Regions from separate parts of the Homo sapiens genome. Here regions 1 and 3 are each linked to region 2. The links are contacts of gene promoters, found by promoter capture Hi-C in human tissues and cell types (Jung and others, 2019). All regions are on one chromosome and are shown on one strand. Each heading gives the region's core, a stretch centred on a gene start or on the middle of the fragment in contact. The rest is flanking DNA. Distances are from core to core; before and after follow the strand shown.

Region 1 (3,078 bases), core at 125-2,624, 480 kb before region 2:
AGTACATAACTCCTAAAACCCTTGAAATCAGCTGGGCACAGTGGTTTATGCCTGTAATCCCAGCACTTTGGGAGGCCAAGACGGGATGATCCCTTGAGGTCAGGAGTTTTCGAGCAGCCTGGGCAACATAGTGAGACCCCATCTCTACAAAAAAAATTTTTTTAATGAAGACAATAAAAAAAAACTATCTTCTAGATTGTTCAGAGGATTAAATGGGCTGGCCAGGGGTGGGGGCTCACACCTGTCCTCCCAACACTTTGGGAAGCAGAGGTGGGAGGATCACTTGAGCCCAGGTGTTGGAGACCAGCCTGGACAACTTGGTGAAACTCCGTCCCTACAAAAAATACAAAAAATTAGGCCGGGCGCGGTGGCTTATGCCCGTAATTCCAGCACTTTGGGAGGCCTAGGCGGGCGGATCACCTGAGGTCAGGAGTTCGCAACCAGCCTGGCCAACATAGTGAAACCTCGTCTCTACTAAAAATACAAAAAATTAGGCAGGCGTGGTGGCGCACGCCTGTAGTCCTAGCTACATGAGAGGCTGAGGTGAGAGGATCATCTGAGCCCGGGGTCGAGGCTGCAGTGAACCGTGATCACGCCACTGCACTCCAGCCTGGGTGACAAAGTGAGACTCTGTCTAAAAAAATAAAATAAATGAGGTAATGTATACGAATATGATGCACGGAGCGGACCTTCAACAATTATTTTTATTGCTATGATCTGCATAATTGGCACAACAGGGCCCTGCCACATCGAACTGTTTAAGCTCAGAACCGTGTCTGTCACATGTGGAGCGATCCATGATTGATGCTATCATTATCACCACCATCATCCCACCAACCCGCCCATCGGAAACAAGCTTTCATCGAATCCCATCGTTTTTTCCTTTTTTGTAAATCTCTTTCCTCGGCCTGGCTCTGCCGCCCAAGTATGCTCGTCAGGCCTTTGCCCACCTGGACCGGGCGCGGGCAGCCCGGGGCTGAGGATTCTCGAGCCTTGGTGGACCACAGGCTCCCGTCGCCCCGCCCAAGGGCCTGGACCGCCTGTGGTCTCCATGGAAACCCGCCAGCCACAGGGGGCGTGACGCCGTTGAGACAGACAGAGATATTCACCTATCAGATCAAAGTTATCTGGGCAGGGCGAACAAACGGGACCTCCGAGTGGTACGTCCTTAAGGCGGGGCGGGAATACGGCAACGGGCCGCGGGGGCTGTTACTGTCGCTACCAATCAAGAGTCGAGATGGCTTTGATGGACAGGCATAGCGCGAGTGCGGGCTTTCGCCCAACCGGCGGGCCGCTGTCCCGAAAAAGGACCAATGAGGAGGCGGCAGGGGTGGGGCGAAGGGGCCGGTTGCTCCGGAAGTGGAGGGAGGGGGTGAAAATGGCGCCCAGCTCGAAATCGGAGCGGAACAGCGGGGCTGGGAGCGGCGGCGGCGGCCCCGGGGGAGCCGGAGGGAAGCGGGCAGCAGGGCGGCGGCGGGAGCACGTCCTCAAGCAGCTGGAGCGGGTCAAGGTGAGGCCTGGAGCCGGAGTGGGGAGCGCGCCGGAGGGTGGGGAGTAGGGACGAGGGAGGCGGAGGGAGGAGGGCGTTCGCGGGGTGAGGGGTTGGGGGCGGGGCCCCAGGGGAGGGGGCTCGGATGCAGGGCCTGGGCGGGGCCCGGGGGAGATGGCTTGGATGGAGGGGGCTCAGTTGGGGGCCTGGATGCAGGTGGTTGTGTCGGGTGACCGGCAAAGGGGCTGGGATGGAGGGGGTTGGGGGCGGGGCCCCAGGGAGGGGGCTCGGAGGGAGGCGACCCCAGAGGCCGCAGGGAGAATCAGGAGGAAGGGGGCGATCCAGGCTTTTCAAAGCTCTGCTCCCATGGTTGCTCCATAATGGAACCTTCCCGCCCCCTTTGCAGAGCCCCTGCCGCTGGCTTTGGGCTTCCTCCGCCTGATGTTCCTCTCCCTGCCCAAGCCCCGACCACACATGAGCTGGGAGTTCCAGTACCTGGGTGGGCCTCCCCATTGAAAGTGTGGGAGCTCCCTGGATAGGGCTGAGTCTTCCCCCGCAGAGTGAGAGTTACCGAAGCAGGCTCTGTCTCCTCCATCAGACTGGAAACTCCCAGAGCTGGGGGATGATGTCTCTCTCCCCCATCAGTTTGGGAGCTCTGGAGGGCAGAAATGTGGATCTCTTGCAGGTGGGCAGTAACTGGGGCAAGGCTGTGTCTCTGTGGACAGGGACTGCGCCTTCTCCGTGAGGCTGGTAGCTTTGTAAGGGCAGTGCTGTGTCTCCCCCTTTTGACTGGGAGCTCCCTGGGCTGGGACAGTCTCCGCCCTTAGCCTGGGAGCTCCCTGGGCTTGGCTGTGGTTCCGCCCTTAGCTTGGAAGCTCCTTGGGCAGGGACTGTGTCTCCCCTGTCGGCCTGGGCCTGGCTGGCCAGGCTGTTTCCTCCGTCAGACTGAGACCTCCATGTGGACAGGGCTGTCTCCCATCAGACAGGGAGCTTCCCAGACAGGACTCTTCCCATCAGATTGGAATGTCTTGAAGGCAGAGTTGGGTAGCAAGACTGAGGCTGTTCGGATATCCCTGTGCCTGGCTTCTGCCTGTCAGTCCCCGCAGATCCTTCCGCGGTGAAGTTTTGGGGATGAGGGATTCCCTTGGATTCCGTTGGAAGGCGGTAGTTAATTGGGAAGGGGGCGTTGGGTCATTGGTTAGGCTCACCCTTCTATCTGCCTCGACTGGCCCCCAGCAGAGGCCAGAGCTGCCCCGGGGAGGAGGAGCCCCCTTGTTTGAAGGCTGGTGGGTTGGGAACAGATGGGTGCAGGTCAGGACTCTGTCCCAGCCTCCTTAGTAGGATAAATACCCACAGCTTAGGGACAGCCTTCAGGGAGGGAAGCAGGTGGCCCAGCGTGGGACAGGGTGATTGGGGAACTTTCTTGGGGGCGGTGACGCTGGGCTCAGTCAAGAGGGACCTGAGGCTGAAGAGGTATGGAACTGGGAAGGTGGCCTGGGTCCCTGGTGGAGATGAAGGCTCAAGCGCGGTCCATCTGGCTTTACTGTCCCCATCTGCCTCAGTTGTTCCCACCTTCCAGAGCTTGGCCT
Region 2 (3,310 bases), core at 532-3,031:
GCCACCACGTTCAGCTAATTTTATATTTTTTAGCAGAGATGGGTTTCACCATATTGGCTAGGCTGGTCTCGAACTCCTGACCTCCAGTGATCCATCCACCACCCACCTTGGCTTCCTAAAGGGCTGGGATTACAGGGGTGAGCCACTGCACCCAGCCGTTTTTTTTTTTCTTTCTTTTTTTAGACAGGGTCTCGCTCTGTCACCCAGGCTGGAGTGCAGGGGCATCATGATTTCTCCCCACAGTGATGCATTCTCGGCCTCTTGAGCTCAAGCGATCCTCCCGCCTCAGCCTCCTGGTAGCTGGGACTACAGGCGTGCGCCACCATGCCCGGCTGGATGGGTTCTGGATCAGCATAATTCTCCTCCTTCTCTCTTTCTGTTGTTAGTATCTCCCAAAGAGTTGCTCAGAGGAAAAAATAAGAGAGAAAACATCGCGCCCTGGTTTCTGGGACGACTGAAACCACGCAGAGCCACGGGTAACCAAGGTACCCGCAGCCCACGGCGCTTCCTCGGGTCCCAAAGGGCGCCAATGTGCAGGCACCGCCGCCAGGGAGCGCTCCCTGCCGGAGCCCCGGAGACCAAGGTTTGGCTCCCTCGCCTGGTTTCCGAAGGAGTGAGGGTCCGACGGCGGCCACGAACAAAGCTGCACGCTCTGCAGACCCCGGAGATCCCCTAGAAATTCCGCAGAGGCCTCCACTCTCCGCTTGGGCACGAGTCTGCATTTATGGAGCGCCATCTGCATGCAGCAGCCCCGAAAAAGAAGGCGATGCCCATTTTATAGCGGGGAAAACTGAGACTCAGAGGCCACAGGGGTCCCCAGGATGAACAGCAAGTTGGGATTCAAACCTCTTTTAATAACAATAACGATAATAGAGGCTGGGCGCGGTGGCTCAGGCCTGTGTAATCTCAGCACTTTAGGAGACCGAGGCGGGCGGATCACCTGAGATCAGGAGTTCGAGGCCAGCCTGGCCAATATGATGAAACCCCGTCTCTACTAAAAATACAAAAATTAGCCGGGTATGGTGGTGGGCACCTGTAATCCCAGCTACTCAGGAGGCTGAGGCAGAAGAATCACTTGAATCCGGGAGGCGGAGGTTGCAGTGAGCCGAGATCGCGCCACTGCACTCCAGCATGGGCAACAGAGCGAAACTCCGTCCAAAAATAGCAAAACAACAAACAAACAATTACGATAACATTAAAAGTGACAGCAGCTAACACTTATGGAGCGTCTAGTGTGTTCTCAGCTCTTGGCCTGCACTGTCTTATTGAATTTTACCAACACCGAGGAGGTGAGCGCATCATTCCCATTTCACAGATGAGGTGCCTGGAAGGGTTTGTCTCCCTCAAGGCGTAAAGCGCTAGGATTTGAATGCAGATCCGCCCAGAGCTTGTCTCCAGGTAACGGGGAAACTTCCATGCCCTTGAATAGGGGACCACAGATGCAGGCGTCCCGAGCTTGCAAATGCACCGGGGTAGGGTGGGGTGGGGGGTTATTCTGTTTGTTTTTTTCAGGGGTCCCGGGAGGCCCAAAGGCCTCCGCCGCTCTCGGCTTGAACGCGTGGAACCGTTCTCCTCGGGTTCCCGCGCGCTCCAATGGGGGACCCCTCGGCAGCGTGCGGTCGTCTCGGGACCCGGAAAGAGGAAAGGTGGGGAGCCGATGGGGATGCTCCGGGCTCGGGAGACCGAGGGGGCGGACGGGCGGGACCCCGCAGCCCCGGGGGCCTCTGGGAACCCGTCCCCCCTCGGCCCCGCCCCCTCCCCGGGCGCCGACCTCCGGGGTCACGTGACCAGGCCCGGCGGCCGCTGGGGCCGGAGGGCGCGGCGCGGGGACGCGGCGGCCTGGCCAGGCGAGGCGGGAGCCGAGCAGGCCGGAGCGGGCCGCGCGCCGGGGAGGGTCGCGCCGCGCCCGCCCCCTCCCCGCCACGCCCGGGGCGCACGCGCGCTCCTCTGGCCGCCCCTCCCTCCGCGCGGGGACCCCTGGCGGGCGGCAGGAGGACATGGCCAGCGACGCCGTGCAGGTAGGCGCACCTGCGTCTGGAGTCCCGGGGCGACCGGACGGCGCCGGCGGACCCCGCCCGCGCGCTGCCGGGGGAGCCCCCCCAGCCCCCGGAACGGGACTCGGGTGACGATGGCAAGGGCGGGGGCCTCCGGAGCGCCCGGCGCCCCCTCCCTGGGCCGGGACTGTGGAGCCAGCGAGGCCCCCTTCTCGGCAGGTGGCGATGTGGACTGGGCTGGTTTGGGGGCGATCCCGGAGGCAACCCCTGCTACACCCTCAAACTCGGCCTCTCCTGGAGAACTAGAAGGGGCGCGGCGGAGGCTCTACTTCGGGTGTCTGTGGCTGGCTGGGCGTCCCAGTGCCTCTCGTCCGCCCCCAAACTCATCCCCCTCCCCAGGGTTGGGTACCCGGCAGGTGCCGCTCCACCTGGGGCACGTGCCTGGCGCAGTGCCCTGGGAGGGGAGGAGGCTGCTGGGCCCGGCCCGTGCCCTTCCCCCGCATAACAAAGCTCCAGCCACCCCCGCCTCTAGACAGCTTTATGATGTTCCAGACGCCACCCAGATTGGCACCTGTTGGCGGAAGTACCCGAGTCACTGCATTAGGTCGGGGGAATGGGGACCCCCACTCCCACCCTTGGGCTGTCAGGTGGAACCTTCTCCTGGGTGGGGAGTGTCTCAGTCAACAGGCCAGGGATGCTCCCATATATAGAATCCTACTTTTTTGCATGGTGGCTGGGCATGGCTGGGTCACCCCCACCCTGCTAACACACACACGTGACTGGCACCAGCCTCCCGCCCAGCCAGATTCCCCTTGTGCCACCTGGTGGGGATCACTGACCTGGACTCATCTTCCCCGTCTGTGACAAGCACGGCCAGGGTGACTGCCAACCTTCTTTGGTTCAAGTGACCCAAATCTGAGAAATGTCTGTGCCTCAGTGTCCCCATTAGCACCTCACCATCCAGTTCATTGTCCTGTGGTTGTTGTGTAACTGGGTTCTCGTCTCCTTCTGCACCTGCCCCCGGCCCCTTTGTGTCTCCCCGGTAACCCCCGGTCCCTCCCGCCTTCCCAGTCCTGCTGATGGCCTGCCGGCCTTGCCGAGGAGCTGGGCGTATCTGGTGTTGCCGATCACACAAGGTCAGACCTCAAGGCCGGGATGGGCCGGGGTCCCTGCCTCTACCCCCGGCCCAGGGAGGGCTGTGTAGGAATCCCCGGGTGCATGCATGCGCTTGGCGCATCCCACACATGACCCAGACAGGCTGTGATTCCTGCAACGAGGCTGGACCCACGCCCTGGTCCCCCCTTCCCATCTCCTCC
Region 3 (2,900 bases), core at 321-2,820, 300 kb before region 2:
TAAAGTGTACCCACGAGCACCTGATGTTGTCCAGCTGAGGTCAATACTAATCGGCAAAACCTAAACAAAGAGCATGTGGAAACTCACCGAAATAAATGGGCCCCTGCAACATAGGCAGACTCGACTCTATTAAAAATCAACAAAATTAATTGGGTGTGGTGGCGCGTGCCGGTGGTCCCAGCTATGCGGGAGGCTAAGGTTGGAGGATCGCTTGAGCCTAGGAGTTCAGGGCTGCAGTGAGCCATGATCGAGCCACTGCATTCCAGCCTGGACGACAGAGACCCTATCTCAAAGGAAAAAAAAGAAAAAGAAAAAATGTACTGTGTTGACTGTCAGGCACAGGGGCTGAAATGGCTCTTTCAACCAGGGCTGGAAAGAAACTGGAGAATTAACTAACGGCTGTAGAGAAATACTGACTCAAGAGTTACAGAAGCTGGTTGGGCACGGCAGCTCACACCTGTAATCCTAGCACTTTGGGAGGCCGAGGCAGGCAGATTGCCTGAGCTCACGAGTTCGAGACCAACCTGGGCAACATGGTGAAACCCCATCTCTACTAAAAATATAAAAATTTAGCTGGGCATGATGGTGTGCACCTGTAATTCCAGCTACTCAGGAGTCTGAGGCATAAGAACTGCTTGAACCTGGGAGGCAGCAGAGATTGCAGTGAGCCGAGATTTTGCCACTGCACTCCAGCCTGGGCAACAGAGCCAGCCTCCGTCAAAAAAAAAAAAAAAAAAAAAAAAAAAAAAAAGAAGAAAGAAGGAAAGAAAGGAAGAAAAAAAGAGTTATAGGTATAGGGCCAGGTGAGGTGGATCATTGGATCATGGCTGTAATCCTAGCACTTTGGGAGGCTGAGGCGGGTGGATTGCTTGAGCTCAGAAGTTCGAGATCAGCCTGGGCAACATGGTGATACAAAAAATACAAAAAATTAGCCAGGCGTGGTGGCATGCCCCTGTAGTCTCAGCTACTCGGGAGGCTGAGGTTGCAGTGAACTGAGATCGTGCCTCTGCACTCCAGCCTGGGTGACAGAGTGAGACTCCATCTCTACTAAAAATATAAAAAATTAGCTGGGCGTGGTGGTGTGCACCTGTAATTCTAATTTATTTTATTTTATTTTGACATGGAGTCTCACTCTGTTGCCCAGACTAGAGTGCAGTGGCACGATCTCGGCTCACTGCAAGCTCCGCCTCCCGGGTTCATGCCATTCTTGTGCCTCAGCCTCCTAATCAGCTGGGACTACAGGCACCCCCCACCACGCCCGGCTAATTTTTTTTTCTATTTTTAGTAGAGACGGGGTTTCACTGTGTTAGCCAAGATGGTCTCGATCTCCTGACCTTGTGATCCGCCTGCCTTGGCCTCCCAAAGTGCTGGGATTACAGGCATGAGCCACTATGCCCAGTCGAGAATCATCTTAAATTTGCTGAAGTGCCCAGGCATGGTGATGTGCACCTGTGGTTCCAGCTACTTAGGAAGCTGAGGTGGGAGGACTGCTTAAGCCCAGGAGTTCAAGTCCAGTCTGGGCAACATAGTGACACCCTATCTCTTTAAAAAAAAAAAAAAAAATCTGGCTGCAGTGTTATAAGTAGAGACATACGTGTATGATTTCATCTCTAAATATAATCTTTCTTTAGAATTATACATGGGACACAAATCACCAATACAGCAGGAACTCATAGCTATGAGTACAGGACACAGCTGTACACATGACGTGTGTACCTAACCTTCTGAGCAATGTCAAGGCAACTCAACTGTGTCCCATGTTATCTCTCTGCGCTAACTTCACAAGCTAGTCCCTGTGCAAGACATACCTCCACTGTGTGTTTGTGTGTATATATATATATATATATATATAAATGATAAGACTAAAGACATGTACACAATTAGTATAGCTGAACTAGCTAAAAAGTCTGCTTCCTGCTTTTTTGTTGTTGTTTTTTTGAGACAGTCTTGCTCTGTCGCCCAGGCTGGAGTGCAATGGCGCAATCTGGGCTCACTGCAATTTCCATCTCCCGGGTTCAAGCGCTTCTCCTGCCTCAGCCTCCCAAATAGCTGGGACTACAGGCACCTGCCACCAAGCCTGGCTAACTTTTGTATTTTTAGTAGAGACAGGGTTTCACCACATTGGCCAGGCTGGTCTCAAACTCCTGACCTCAGATGATCCACCTGCCTTGGTCTCCCAAAATGCTGGGATTACAGGGGTAAGCCACTGTGCCTGGCCATTTTTTTTTTCTTTTTTTTTTTTTGAAACAGAGTCTCGCTCTGTCACCCAGGTTGGAGTGCAGTGGCACAATCTCAGCTCACTGCAACCTCTGCCTCCCGGGTTCTAGCGATTCTTCTGCCTCAGCCTCCTGAGTAGCTGGGATTATAGCTGCGTGCCACCATGCCTGGCTAATTTTTGTATTTAGTAGAGCCGGGGTTTCACCACGTCGGTTAGGCTGGTCTCGAACTCCTGACCTTGTGATCCATCCGCCTCGGCCTCCCAAAGTGCTGGGATTACAGGTGTGAGCCACCACACCTGGCTTTTTCTTTTTTTTTTTTTTTGAGATGGAGTCTTGCTTTGTTGCCCAGGTTGGGGTGCAGTGGTGCAATCTCGGCTCGCTGCAAGCTCTGCCTCCTGGGTTCACGCCATTCTCCTGCCTCAGCCTCCCGAGTAGCTGGGACTACAGGCGCCCGCCACCACACCCGGCTAATTTTTTGTATTTTTAGTAGAGACGGGGTTTCACCATGTTGGCCAGGCTGGTCTCGAACTTCTGACCTCAGGTAATCTGCCCGCCTTGGTCTCCCAAAGTGCTGGGATTACAGGCGTGAGCCACCATGCCAGGCCTCCTTTGTTTGTTTGCTTTTTGCCTTTGTTCATAATCAAAGATGAGCTCTGCTGCCATAACAACTTCGTTATTTCT

The links. Contacts are between HindIII fragments. The study calls those that stand out against the background at their distance.
Region 1: the fragment with the promoter of DCAF15 here is called in contact with the fragment with the promoter of PKN1 in region 2 in 2 of the 25 tissues and cell types used here (lymphoblastoid cells and spleen).
Region 3: a fragment that was not itself captured here is called in contact with the fragment with the promoter of PKN1 in region 2 in 2 of the 25 tissues and cell types used here (dorsolateral prefrontal cortex and lymphoblastoid cells).

The regions. Positions count from the first base shown.
Region 1 is chr19:13,951,135-13,954,212 of GRCh38, forward strand. It overlaps DCAF15 (DDB1 and CUL4 associated factor 15), which reads left to right and starts at 1,375. Exons shown (of 13, transcript NM_138353.4): 1 at 1,375-1,510. The coding sequence starts at 1,379. It also overlaps a transcript of PODNL1 not described here. RefSeq lists an enhancer at 748-797 and a silencer at 1,458-1,597. The HindIII fragment of the contact is 40,615 bases long and covers 1-3,078 here.
Region 2 is chr19:14,431,525-14,434,834 of GRCh38, forward strand. It overlaps PKN1 (protein kinase N1), which reads left to right and starts at 1,782. Exons shown (of 22, transcript NM_002741.5): 1 at 1,782-2,018. The coding sequence starts at 1,998. RefSeq lists enhancers at 522-801, 1,676-2,249, 2,250-2,822 and silencers at 1,532-1,871, 2,042-2,111, 2,402-2,511. The HindIII fragment of the contact is 61,187 bases long and covers 1-3,310 here.
Region 3 is chr19:14,128,960-14,131,859 of GRCh38, forward strand. All of the region lies in intron 1 of ASF1B (anti-silencing function 1B histone chaperone), which reads right to left. Among named protein-coding and RNA genes, the nearest start is that of ASF1B, 6.2 kb to the right of the region's middle. The HindIII fragment of the contact is 8,412 bases long and covers 1-2,900 here.